Linked DNA regions of Homo sapiens: region 2 is linked to region 1. The links are contacts of gene promoters, found by promoter capture Hi-C in blood cells and fetal thymus (Javierre and others, 2016). All regions are on one chromosome and are shown on one strand. The core of a region is centred on a gene start or on the middle of the fragment in contact, and the rest is flanking DNA. Distances in the headings are between cores, read along the strand shown. Region 1 holds the start of MPPE1 (metallophosphoesterase 1). Region 2 has its middle 56 kb from the start of ANKRD62.

The links. The method cuts DNA at HindIII sites, captures the fragments that hold promoters and counts their contacts. A CHiCAGO score of 5 or more calls a contact.
Region 2: a fragment that was not itself captured here is called in contact with the fragment with the promoter of MPPE1 in region 1 in 16 of 17 cell types (total B cells, monocytes, naive CD8 T cells and 13 more); the score reaches 8.3 in total B cells.

The regions. Positions count from the first base shown.
Region 1 is chr18:11,906,727-11,913,556 of GRCh38, reverse strand. MPPE1 (metallophosphoesterase 1) reads left to right here and starts at 5,240. Exons shown (of 11, transcript NM_023075.6): 1 at 5,240-5,356. LOC101927511 (a long non-coding RNA gene) reads left to right here. Exons shown (of 4, transcript XR_007066296.1): 4 at 2,695-3,008. RefSeq lists a silencer at 4,448-4,847. The HindIII fragment of the contact is 5,797 bases long and covers 3,850-6,830 here.
Region 2 is chr18:12,034,171-12,041,573 of GRCh38, reverse strand. No RefSeq gene overlaps it. Among named protein-coding and RNA genes, the nearest start is that of ANKRD62, 56 kb to the left of the region's middle. RefSeq lists silencers at 2,408-2,477, 2,858-2,927 and an enhancer at 2,875-3,376. The HindIII fragment of the contact is 6,123 bases long and covers 1,497-7,403 here.

The DNA.
Region 1 (6,830 bases), core at 3,991-6,490:
TGGTGTTTTGCCATGTTGGGTTTTGAGCTCCTGACCTTAGGTGACCCATCTACCTCGGCCTCCCAAAGTATTGGGAGTTTCCAAGGCTCCCTTAGTGTAAGCCAGGATTTTTTAAATACAAGGCGGCAAAGATACCACAATGTTACCACAACACAACAATGTATATCACAACCATGTATACCACTATGTATACCACAATGTTATTCACTGTAGCTGCTCCCACAGAAAAGTAGTTTACAAGACAGTGAAGTACAATATGAAACTGAAGATGTTTAGAGAGGAAACAGTGATTTAAAGAGTGCTCTGTAGAATTAAAACCAGTTAGCCCGGCACATTGGGGAACACCTCTGGTCCCAGTTACTTAGGAGGCTAAGATGGGAGGATCACTTAAACCTCGGAGTTTGAGGCCACCCCGGGAACACAATGAAACCTTGTCTCAAGAAACAAAACCAAATACCCCAAGTAGGCCGGGTGTGGTGGCTCAAGCCTGTAATCCTAGCACTTTACGAGGCTGAGGCAGACAGATCACTTGAGGTCAGGAGTTTGTGAACAGCCTTGCCAACATGGGTAAACCCTGTCTCTAAAAAAAAAAAAAAAAAAAAAAGCCAGGTATGGTGACACACACTTGTAATCCCAGCTACCCCGGATGCTGAGGCATGAGAATCCCTTAAACCCAGGAGGTGGAGGTTGCAGTGAGCTGAGATCATGCCACTGCATTCCAGCCTGGGAGACAGAACCAGATTTGGTCTCAAAAAAAAAAAAATTGGTTAATGGCATTAAAAGTCAACTAATAAAATTAGTTAAAACTATGGACTTTAATAAATGTTATCTGTTTTAGCAATTTTTTTTTTTGAGACGGAATTTCACTCTTGTTGCCCAGGCTGGAGTGCAATGGCGCGATATCAGCTCACTGCAACCTCTGCCTCCAGAGTTCAAGTGATTCTCCTGCCTCTTCCTCTGGCTCCGGAGCAGCTAGGATTACAGGCGCCCACCACTACGCCTGGCTAATTTTTTTGTATTCTTTGTAGAGATGGGGTTTCACCATGTTGGCCAGGCTGGCCTCAAACTCCTGACCTCCAGTGATCTGCCCGCCTTGGCCTCCCAAAGTGCTAGGATTACAGGTGTGCACCACCGCGCCCGGACTGTTTTAGCAAATTTGACAAAATGTGGGTAATTTATCCATATAATAGAAAATGCCTAATATTCATTAATTGAAAATTAGAAATTACATTAAAATATTCGGTACTGTTTTTTAAACTATTCTACTTTTACATATTTGGGAAGATTATTTTCTTTAACGATTCTGTTTTATATATTTTATTAATTGTGTTATCTGTTTCCTGAAATTAATATATGCTAGAAGGAAAATTACCTTTATAAATGTCAGCATCTTAAAAGTCATGTCAATATGCAGATTTTGATAACAATCGGTATAGATAAACTAATTCTAAAGTTAGGAATGGGGCCAGGCGCGGTGGCTCAGACCTGTAATCCCAGCACTTTGGGAGGCCGAGGTGGGCGGATCACTTGAGGTTAGGAGTTCGAGACCAGCCTGGCCAACATGGCAAAACCCTGTCTCTATTAAAAATGCAAAAATTAGCTGGGTGCGGTGGCGGGTGCCTGTAATCCCGGCCACTCAGGAAGCTGAGGCAGGAGCATGGCTTGAACCCGGGAAGCAGAGGTTGCAGTGAGCCAAGATGAGCCACTGCACTCTAGTCTGGGTGACAAAGTAAGACTCTGTCTCAAAAATAAATAAATAAATAAAGTCAGGAATAGGTCATGCCATGCTTTATTATATCCGTGATGCTTTATTATATCTGTGACTTTGAAAATTAACATTATTTTACTAACCATACTCAACAATGCTTTTTAAAAAGGGATTTATGACATATAATTCTTTTGGAAATTAAAATGCATGGTATAATTCTATGGTTGGTCAGATTACACTTCAGGTGTAAATGAATTACCTTAAAAATGTATTTCTTAGGTTTATGTTTTATGGACTTAATAAATATTTTATTACAATTTTTTTTTTTTTTAGACAGAATCTCACTCCGTCACCCAGGCTGGAGTGCAGTGGCACGATCTCGGCTCACTGCAACCTCCACCTCCTGGGTTCAAGTGATTCTCCTGCCTCAGCCTCCCGAGTAGCCGGGAATACAGACGCATGCCACCGCTCCTGGCTAATTTCTGTATTTTTAGTAGAGCCGTGGTTTCACCATATTGGCCAGGCTGATCTCGAACTCCTGACATTGTGATCTGCCCTCCTTGGCCTCCCAAAGTGCTGGGATTACAGGCGTAAGCCACCGCACCCAGCAGAAAAAAATCTTAAACTTACAAAAACATAGAGAGAAATATAGCAAATGCTTGTATTAGTTTTCTATGGCTGCTGTAACAAATTACTACCACTTTGGTGACCTAAAACAACCCAAATTTACTACCGTACAAGTCCTGTAGGTCAGGAGCCCACACGGGGCTCACTGGGCTAAAACTCAGGTGATGGCAGGACACCTGAGCATCTGCAGGATCATTCATTCCTTGCCTTTTCCACCTTGAGAGGCCACCTGTGGCATTCCTGGGCTTGTGGCCCCTTCCTCCATCTCCGGAGTCAGCACCAGCGGCCACATCCTTGTCAGGTTGAATCTCTCTGAACTTCCTTCCAGTGTTACGTCTCTTTCCAATTCTCATTTGCAGGTAAAGGTTCTCGGAAGGACCCAATGAGACTGGGCTCACTGGGATAATCCAGGATCATCTCCCATCTCAAGGTTCTTCATCGCATACTTGCAAAGCCCCTTTTGCCATGTCAGGTAACTTGTTCACAGGTTTGAAGATTAGAATGTGGGCATGTTTGGGGGGCATAATTAGGCCTAGCACAATGCCCATGTACCCATCTCCTTGCTTAAACATTAAACACTTTGCCAATATTGTTTCTCCTATCTCTCACTTTGTTCTCTAAAAAACTCCAGGAATTTGTTATTAAATTTTATTAAAGCAAATCCCAGAAATAATATAATTTGCCTGTAAATATGTTAATATGTTTCTCTGAGGCCTTTAAAAATCATAGCCACTATGGTATTATCGTAATAAAATTACCTGAAGTTATTTAATGTCACCTAACATTCAGTCCATGTTTAAGTTTCCCAATTTTTTTTTTTTTTTTTGAGATGGAGTCTCACTCTGTCGCCCAGGCTGGAGTGCAGTGGCGTGATCTGGGCTCACTGCAAGCTCTGCCTCCCGGGTTCACACCATTCTCCTGCCTCAACCTCCCGAGTAGCTGGGACTACAGGCACCTGCCACTACACCCGGCTAATTTTTTTTTTTTTTTTTTTTTTTTTAGTAGAGACGGGGTTTCACCGTGTTAGCCAGGATGGTCTTGATCTCCTGACCTCCTGATCTGCCCGCCTCGGCCTCCCAAAGTGCTGGCATTACAGGCAAGAACCACCGCGCCTGGCCGCCAATGTTTTTAAAAATGCCATTTATTTATGTAAAAGTTTGTTTGTCTTAATCATGACCCAAACAAGGTCCACAAATTGCATTTGGCTAATGTGTCTCTCAAGGTCCCCCCACCCTCTTTTTTTTAAAGACATGGGGGGTCTAGCTGTGTTGCCCAGCCTGGAGTGCAGTGGCTATTCACAGCTGTGATCATAGCTCACTACAGCCTTGAACTCTGGCCTTAAGCAATCCTCCCACTTCAGCCTCTGAACATTTATTTTTGAAAAAAGAAATTGGGTCATTTGGTTTGTAGAATTTCCCACATTCTGGATTTGGCAGATTACTTCCTGGTGGTGTAATCTAATGGGTTCATTTGGCCCCTGTATTTCCTTTAGCCTGTGATTAGTGTTATAAGCTTAACTGGTTCTAGTTTCCCTTTCTTTGTTAGTCAGAGAGAATACTTTAGAGGTGAGGCTGCAAACAATCCACGGTGCCATATTAGTGTGTTTATGGAATCAGGCTGTCCCAGTTTCGATTATGTCAAAGTTGTTCACCTGATCATATCTGAAGATATTACAATATTCTTAATAATAATAACCATTTACCGCATACTTATTGTATACCAGGCATTTTGCTGGCTGTGTCCTATATAATTCCTCAAACCACATCTCCGTGTATTAACCACACTCATAGATTTGTGAAAATGTACCAGAATTGACTGGTTGGAAGGCTCTATGTGGATTATTACTCTGAGCATGTTTACTTCTTGAAATATGAAATAATGGCTCCTGCTTTTAATATACAGGCTTATTTTGAGGATTTTTTGAACGGATGTGAGAGCACTTAGAAAACTGGAACGCGCCGCGCTACACCATTAAAATTAGTAACATCAGTGAGAAAAAAGCAAGTGCATAATAAATATTATAGTTATCCTGATTGTCTCCTTTATTCATCACACACTTCCTAAGCACATCTCTGGAGGGCACTTTCCAAGGCTCCGGGGGAGGAGAGGAAAGAGGCGCAGCCAGGCCTGGTGGGTCCCGGAGGGGCAGCGCGGCGCGGGAGGGGAACGGGGAGGCACGGCCTGGCTGCCACCGCGCGCGGAACCCGGGAGCGGCTCCGGGGCTGTCAGCTGCCCGCCTGGCTCCTCCAAGGCCTGGAGCTCGGACGCGGGCTCTGGGGGCTTCTGGGGCGCGGAAGCGGGCTCGCGGGGAGCAGTGGCCGCCCCCGGCCGCCGCGGTGGCTGTGCTCAGAAGCCGGCCCTGGCGTCAGGAGGCCGGGCGCGCGGCGCGGGGCGCGAGTTCCCCTGCCCGCCTGTGCGCCCCGCAACGGGCCTTTCCTGGGCCCTAACGACAGCTCGCCCGTGCTTCGCCCTCGCAGCTCTCCTGTGTCCCCAAAATGCCTTTCCCGCGTCCCCCGCCCTTCAGCGGTGACTGCCCAGGGGACTCTGTAACGCGACACTCAGACTGCCGAGCCTGCCAGGCACTTCGCGGAGGGCGCTAGGGGCCGGGACGCGGCCGCCGAGCGTAGGTTCCGGCCTTTACTCCGAGTTGCGCACGGAGCCCCAGCTGCGGTTGTCCGCTCTGGGGATCACAGGCCGCGGAGACCCGGGAGCCACCCGCCGGGCCCCTTCAGACGACCCGCTTCCGCAAACCGGCCGTGGGACTCCGGCGCCGGGCGGACGAAGCGGCTCCGGGAAGACTCGGTCTTCCCCGCCCGCCTGAGGTCGCCGGGGCGGGGCTTCAGTGACAGGCCCGCGCGCTACCGCGGAAACAGGAAGTTGGCTGGGTGCGCGCCGGCTCCGGCTGCAGTTCCCGGGTCCCTCGGCCACCGAAGCCACCCTGCCCTGGTGAAAGGGCTCCCGCACCGCCCGGTGCTCCCCATCTGCCTGGCGTTGTGCGCAGAGCTGGAAAGCATGGCTGTTGTATGTATTCTTGCGCCCGTGTGACAACATTTAAACTTCTAAAAACGGAACCTCCTTCCGTGTTAGGATTGCAAGTTAACCTAGGAAAAACAGCATTCTGCAAATTATTTGCTGGAAAATCTCGGTGACTTAAGGCCCATGTATTACTTTGCAGGGGTCTCTCACTCTAGTTTGCTGGTGTAGATTTTTTAAAAAATCCATCTTATCAAAAAATACCGTTTAAGGTGGAAAATTTCAAATGCAAGTCGCAGTTGATGAGATTGCAATTAATATATTTAAGATAGTGAATTAGAGAAAAACTACAGGTCAGTGCATATTAAGTATTTTTTTCATATTTTGGGGGGATTAGATTTTTAACGATAACTTTGAAGTTAAAAATTAAAAGATAGGCTGGGTGCCGTTGCTTAGGCCTGTAATTCCAGCACTCTGGGACGCTGAAGTGGGAGGATGGCTTGATCCCAGAGATGCGAGACCAGCCTGGGCAACATAGCAAGTCCCCCGCCCCCACCATAACAACAAAAGTACCAAAAAAAAAAAAAAAAAAAGCCAGGTGTAGTGGCACGCACCTGAAGTCCCTGCTACTCGAGAAGTTGTGGGGGAAAGGATCGCTTCAGCGCAGGAGTTTGGGGCTGCAGCGAGCTGTGACGCAGCCTGCGGTTGACAAAAAGTCAAAACTCTATAAAATATTTGAAGGGATTAATTCTGAGCCAAATATGAGTGACCATGGCTGGTGACACAGCCATTTGGAGACCCTGAGAACGCGTACGCAAGGTGGTCGGGGCCCAGTGTGGTTTTATGCATTTTAGGGGAGCCATGAGTCATCAGTCAAATACATGTAAGATTAAGATGTACATTGGTTCGGTCCATAAAGGTATGACAGCTGAGGAGGTGGGTGGGTCGGGGGTTTCCGGGTTATAGGTAGATTGAAAATTTTCTGATTGGCATTTGGTTGAAAGATTTATTATCAATGGAAAGGAATGTTTGGGTTACAATAAGAGGCTGTGGAGACTGAAGTTTTATCATGCAGATGAAGCCTCCAGGTAAGTTAAGTGTCCAGCATGTTAAATGCTGGTCTGCTTTTCCTGAATTCTAAAAGGGAGGAGGATGAAATGTGTCAAGTTCCACCCCCACTTCCCATCATGGCCTAAACAAGTTTTGCTTAAAACAACCTAAAACAAGGTTAACTCTGGAATGCCCTTGGTGGGGTCCATGCAGATGGTTGAGGGGTCTTAGGATTTCATTTTTGATTTACAATGGGCGGTGGAGTGAGACCCTATCTCTAAAAATAAATAAATAAATAAATACAAATTGAAAAGTTCAAAGATAAATTTTTTTTTTTTTTTTTTGAGACGGAGTTTCGCTCTTGTTGCCCAGGCTGGAGTGCAATGGCGCGATCTCGGCTCACTACAACCTCCGCCTCCCGCATTCAAGCGATTCTCCTGCCTCAGCCTCCCGAGTAGCTGGGATTACAGGC
Region 2 (7,403 bases), core at 3,309-5,808, 130 kb before region 1:
ATAGTCAGCACCGATGGTTAATCTTTGTATTTCTTTTGTATCCATAGAAATGCCCTCATTCAATGCCTGATTGCTTGCACACATAAAGACCCACCTTTGGGGGTGCCCCACCCCCACCTGCACCACCACCTCCTGAAATGAGACACAGCTGTTTAACTGGACTGAGATATTCCCAGGGCAGAGAGACTGGTTTAATGGGAACAATCAAATAACTTCGCTTCTGGAATGTGACACATCATAGAGAAGTTTCAGACAGGGAAATGAAGGGCCTAAATGATGCCACTCCACAATATGCCATTGTGGCATAAGGATTATTTTGAGCTGAAGGTAATGGAGGATCCACAGGTGCTGAAAGAGTTCTCTGTCTTCTCCTTTTCTGCCTGAAATCAGATCATAAATGCCTTCTTGTGAAGGTGGCATAAAGTACCCTGTGAAGGTGTCCCCCTCGCCCCCACCAAGAATAGAGTGGCTCTTATCACCGGAGTTAGCACCAAGATGAGTCCACATAAACAAGCCTTTCTGAAATAGCCTTGTCTTCCATCACCTTCCCCAAATACTCCCCAGTCACTTCCCAGTGCCTTGTCCTCCCTCAAGGTCAAATCCTCTTTTCTTTGTTAAAGTTATCAGCCCCTGAGTCTCGCTGCTTCTTTGAGTTCCACTTCTTTTCTGTGAATTCCTATGCACATAAACATTAACAAAAATTGTATACTTTTTCTCTTATTAATCTTTATTTTCAGTGTAATTTGCAGGTCCCCATTAACTGAACCTAAGAGGGTGGAGGAAACATTTTTCCTCACCAGCAATATATCTCTCACTTAATCCTTAACCTATGAATAGGTACCATGATTATCTTTATTTCACTGATGATGCCACTGAGGCACAGATAATGTAAAAATCCTGTCCAAGGTCTCTCTCATAGCTAGTAACTGATGTAGTTGGGACATATTAAATAAATGATGATTGGCATGTTCAGTCGAGTTAAATAAGATTTTTCTGAGTGTTCTGGGAAGATTTTGAAAATAAAGCCATGGCTCCGTTCTTCAAATATTTATTTAATTGGCAATACTTGTTACCAACACAAAATTGCACACGTCAGTGTCCGGAAGCATAACTCAGATTCCATCTTATACTTAGCCAAACCTGATTAAATGGTTTCCCAAAGTTACTGTTGTAGCCATACAAAGACAAAAACAACCTCTTGTCAAATCAGAAGAGCCACAGAAAACAAGAGAGTACCTCAAAGTCAACCAGTGACTGCTGAAAAACATCTATCCAGAAAAAAAAAAAAGAAAAAAAAAAACAGGCATGGCTTTGGGAAGAAGACATGAATTTGAGATCTAGCATGAGGAAGTATGGAGAGGGAAACTGGTCTAAAATACTGTTACATTATAAATTCACCACTGGCCAAGTGTCATGTGAAAAGACAGATGAAGGACTATGAAGAAATTAAAACTGATTTGCTCAGACAGTGAAGACTGAATGTGTTTGTAAAAGCTTCATACATGGACAGTTAAATATGTTGATCACTGCATTTTGTTTGTAACTTGCTGGTCATTGATGTTTCTTAAAACTGTTGTTTAAGGCATTACAGGTATTTTTCTGCAACAGTCAATATGAGGATTTGTACTACAAGAGATAAAATATATGCTATCATTGTTTTTTGTGTGTTTGTTTTTTGAGATGGAGTTTTGCTCTTGTCACCCAGGCTGGAGTCCAATGGCGCAATCTCAGCTCCTGCAGCCTTGGCCTCCTGGGTTCAAGAGGCTCTCCTGACTCATGCTCCTGAGTAGCTGGGACTACAGGCGTCTGCCACCACACCTGGCTAATTTTTGTATTTGCAGTAGAGATGGGGTTTCACTATGTTGGCCAGCCTGGTCTTGAACTCCTGACCTCAGGTGATTCGCCTGCCTCGGCCTCCCAAAGTGTTGGGATTACAAGTGTGAGCCAACGTGCCGGCCTATCAATGTATTCTTTAAGCATCTTTTTATTTTGATAAAATGTAAATTTGTTTAACCCTGCTGCATGCAATAACTCAGCCCCCAAATCCTGTTTCAATTTAAAAAACAAAAACAACACCCTCTTGTCAAAAACTTGATTAAACTCTGGGTGAACTAGTTTTCTCACTTTTTTTCTCATCAGGCTTAAATTTTTATTGCATATCCTTACTTTAGCCATGGACTGAGTTGGTATTTTTTGGTTATGCACTCACAGCACGGCACAACGCATGGAATAACGGCATGTGTTCCGTCACAGTCCCCGCTGTCCTGTGCCCCTGCCATTCGCGGATACAGCCGAGCCCCACGGTTAAGCTCCTCCCGACCCAGGGACAAATGGCCTCGCCCAAGGGCGCAGGACGAGTCCCAAGCCCAAGCCATTCTGCAGGGCCCTGACCAGAGGGCGTCTGCGGCCTCGCGTGCTGCGCAGTTCTTCCGCTCGGACAGCAGGGGGCGCGCTGCCCTTGGCAAAGAAAGCCTCCGCGCCCAGCGACCAGCACCCAGCGCCCGCCTATACCGCCGCGCGGGCCGGTACCGGGTCAGGGCGGCGCGGAGCGTGGGTTGCAGAGACAACCCCAAGTGGTGGCTGGTCCCGGCGAGTCTGTTCCCGTTGTGCTGTCGCCTCGCAGCCCAGGGCTCCCTGAGAGTGAGGAGAAAGCTCAGGCTCCCAGGGCGGGCCCGCTTGGTCCCGGGAACTCGGGAGTCACCGCCGTCAGTGTGACCGGGTCCGAGAGCGCGGGTCGTTGGAGCGCAGTGTGGCCGCCGCGTGGGGACGTCTTGGGGGAGGTGATGGCGACGCTGGGGGCCGACCCGGGGCACCGCGTGGTCCCAGACAGCTGCGCCCATCAGGGCAGACGGGCGCCCCAGCCCCTCAGTCCAGCCCGGGCCCATCCTGCTCCGGGCTGCGGGGACTGGGGGCGGGCCGCCCGGGGGCGGCCTGGGGCCTTGGAGATGTGACCCAGGTGACACGGACTCTGGGACCACCTGCCTCTCACACCGGGGTGCCCGAGTGCCCTCATGATTTGAAGAAGAGGGAGACAGAGTCGGAGCCCAAAGCATCTAAAGGCCGCGCTGGCAGCACGCACCCACCGGGAGGAGATGACGAAGCCGCCCTCGCGTCTGAAAGCGCCTTCCTTCTACGCGTGCAGGGACGCGCCTGGCAGCGGCCCACCCTGAGGCTGCAGGACAGGAACCGGTCCCCCGGATTCCTCTTCCTCAGGAGCCCTTACAGAGTCCACACAGCCGGCTGCGAGGGAGGACAGAGCCCACTCACATCTCCACGTGTGGAGGCCGCCTGGCCTGGAAGCTCATTCCCTGCAGAAACCAGTCTCTCCAGGAGCCCCAGGGTGCCCCTAGCAGGAATCACCACACCCATAGCATAGCTCTCTTCCATTACTTAGTGATGGCGCCTCCCAAATCAGCTTCCCCCTGCCAGCCAGGAGCTGTTTTCGCCATAGGCACTATTGCCTAGTAGGCAGCTGGGACATTCCACCTTCGCCTTCTGCCAGGAGAACAGGTAGAAGGCCAACTGCATTTAGTTCAAATAATGCAAAAAGGGAAACATTGTTAAACTTTTGCATACGAATATTGATTTTATTAAAATCTGGAGATATCTTTTTTGAGACGGAGTTTCACTCTTGTTGCCCAGGCTGGAGTGCAGTGGTGTGATCTCGACTCACTGCAACCTGCGCCTCCCAGGTTCAAGCGATTCTCCTGCCTCAGCCTCCCAAGCAGTTGGTATTACACGCGTGGGCCACCATGCCCGGCTAATATTTTTGCATTTTTAGTAGAGACGGGGCTTCACCATGTTGGTCAGGCTGGTCTCAAACTCCTGACCTCAGGTGATCCACCTGCCTTGGCCTCCCAAAGTGCTGGGATTACAAGCATGAGCCACCTCACCCGGCCTAAAATCTGGAGATATCAAACCTAAATATATATTCCCTTCTTTTACAAAGTGAAAAAAAAAAACACAAAAACTAACTCTATAGAATGTGAAAACAGAGACATATCTTAATAGTAACACATGTTAAGTGCTTTGATTCAATTCCTGTTGTTGAAACCCAAAAGCAAAAAAACCCCAAAACCTTTGAGAAAGCTGCTGGTACCAAAATGGAGTCACTTACATTAAACTCCAGCAAAATGGAGTGGTGGGAGGCCATCAAGAAGCCCTCACGCCCACATGCCTGAAACAGGACTTATCCCAAGACTTTCCTGCACCCAGACCAGCATCACGACTTAGTGCAAGGACTTCTTGAGGCCGCAGTATTCCAGATCTGCCACCAGCACGCAACACTGACCTGGCAACAGCCGCCTCCCCCAATCAACAGAGCCAACTCCTGCAGTGAGCTTCTGTCACCTACGAGCCTTGTTTCAAAGCCGCTCATGTGTACATCTGTTTGTCTTTAAAAGATTCCTCTTTGGCTAGGTGCAGTGGCTCATGCCTGTAATCCCAGCACTTTGGGAGGCCAAGGCAGGCAGATCGCTTGAGGTCAGGAGTTCGAAACCAGCCTGACCAACGTGGCGAAACCCCATCTCTACTAAAAATACAAAAATTAGCCGGGTATGGTGGCGAGTGCCTGCAATCCCAGCTACTCGGGAGGCCGAGGCAGAAGACCCACTTTAACCCAGAAGGCAGAGGTTGTATTGAGCCAAGAGCAGAGCGAGACTCCATCTCAAAAAAAAATAAAAATAAAAATTTATCTTTGCCACGACATCCCTGGATATGCCCTGATCCATCATTATAGCACACACATCCTGAACTATAATCCCTTGCCTAGTCCCAAGTGAGCCCATTTGTTCTGGGTCCTATCTGAGCTTCTTTTTAGCCTGACACCTGCACAACTGCTGCGTGTGGTGACTCACAGTTACTAATATCTCAGTGAAACTCTTCTCCAAGCCAAGGGGCCCAACAGACTTGGCCCTCCGTGCACAGGCAGGCCTGATGCATGGGAGTGGCTGGGAGCCACCACCCTGTCAAAGGCGGAGACCTTGGAACCACCTGATGGCATTCCAGACTTATAGGTGGATAATTAATGACTTCACAGCATGGAAACTTCCAGTTGGCAGCAGTTGCAGGCCATTCTGACCCTTACTGAGATGGTTTTTGGGGAACGTGGTCCAGATGGTGGATGTGACACTCTCAGCCGGCACAGGTATGAGGACTGAGGCCATCCTCGGGCAGGGGCAGGAAATGGAGGATTGCCAGCTGTCTGGATCTGGGCAAGGGCTATGAGGTGGCACACCATCCAACCTGAGCAACTCTTGGCCCTACACGCCAGCTCCTTCCCCCAAGGTTGGCAGGGGATTCCCTGTCCAATGCCGTGACTTTTCTAGTGTTGGACGCACCAGACATGCCTGCAATCTACCACAAAACTAGTGACTGGTGAGACCTGGAGGTCAGAAGGTTGGAACAGGTGATTGCTAAGGGACATCCCCTTCTGAGATTCCATTATTCAGTCCGAGAAGCCCACAGGAGACACTGTCAAAACCCTCCAAATTACTTTCTGCATAGACATATCAGATCATTCTACTGGAGGGCAACCCTATAGCATGACTGACAACCATGACATTCTCACCGAATAGAGATACACCTGCCACCTGAGGGCTTCCTCTCCTCTCACTTGATGATGGTTAGAACCAGCTCTCCAGTAGAAGGACTGACACACGCAGTATCACAAGTATCCTCCCCGTGTTTCCAGCACAAAGTTTGGACTGCTCCACATGGTGCCCAAGGCCCCGAGTTGGCCTATGTGTTTAAGCATCACCTCCCCAACCCTCCAAGCAACAAGATGCCTCCTGCAGCCAAGCAGAACCACGTGTTTATCCCACTGCAGCCCTAGCCATTTCTCTCTGCCTCTACCTGAACATCCTGCTCCAGATCCTTTTCCCCACCCCCCTCACATCTCCAGCTGGCCTGCTCGGTGCTGTCACGCGGGCACTGTGAGCCTGCAGAGTCCAGGGGGTTCCTGGAGGTCAGGGCTCCTGTTTACCTATGCATCTGGTAAGACGGGACATGTGACTAGTGACAAACTGAAACCTCTGCTCCTTGTGAGATGCCACACTCTGGGAAGTTGTGTGGCTACTTCTTGCATAGGAACTTGGGCACTGGAGTCACCCCTTAGGATCTTCCCATTCCCAGAGGCCAGCGGTGTTGTTCCCCTCTTCTTCCAACTTCAGGTTCAGATTTTGGCCTCTCCATTCCAGTTTAGTGATGGTGGCCCTGCCCCACGGGCTCTGCACTCCTGGCTTTGAAGCTGCAGTTCCAGATCCTTTGCAATAGCCCCTTGCTTTTGTCCCCTACGTCTTCATCTTCCATCTGCGTCACCCATCCCACACTCACTGCTTTTGTGGGGTTTTTTGTTGTTTTTTTCTGAGACAGGGTCTCACTCTATCACCCAGGCTGGAGGGCAGTGATGCAATCTTGGTTCAGTGCAACCCCTGCCTCCTGGGTTCAAACGAGTCTCCCACCTCAGCCATGTAACTAGCTGGGATTACAGGTGCACGACACCATGCCTGGCTAGTTTTTGTATTTTTAGTAGAGACAGGGTTTCACCATGTTGGCCAGGCTGGTCTTGAACTCCAGACCTGAGGTGATCTGCTCGCCTCAGCCTCCCAATATGCTGAGATTACAGGTGCTTTTGTTTTAGATCTGCTGTGGGCTGTAGCTGACTGCAGTGACTAAATGGTAGAGAGGCCTGCCCAGGCGACCCCCAGGATGCGACATGGCTTGTGGTGTTTGGGGCATCCAGTCCTGGCACTCGGTGATGCCATCTACATGGACTTCTCATCTTCATCTTCCTCTACAGGGGCCTCTACAAGTGACTAGCTTCACTCCACCCTGAAGCCTTCACTCACACAAAGAGGAAGCAATTTGTGGGGCTGAAACTGGGAAAGGAAGTCCAGGGCAGAGAAAGAGGCAAGAAGCAGTTGGGGTGAGAAGCCCTTGACTCTGGGTCCTCTGTCCTGGCTCCTGCAGTCTTTCTGCTCTTCTTGTCCATCTGTTTGATGTGGTCACGTGCATGCACTATTTCATTTGATCCACACAGTCCTGGGAGGAGTGCAGTTTAATTCATTTTACAGAGGGGCACAGAGAGGCTAGGCCAGTACCTCAAGTTTACCCGGCTGCTGAGTGGCCCCCTGTGCTGACATGCATAGCCCCTGCATGTCCCAACATCTGCTGGGGACAAAGCGCTGGTTCAGATGGCCTGGTGCCTCCCCAGATCATCCAAGTTTTAGGCCACTGATTTGGGCCTCTGCTTATGTTTTCAAAAAGCTGCTCTATTTATACATTGCCTCCACAGAAAAAAGCAATGATGAATGTGGTTCCTACTGGGAAAGCTATAGGATGTATTTTTCCAGCCCGGAAGTCCTGGGTATGGATGATAGAACTGATTGTAAATGGCTTAATAA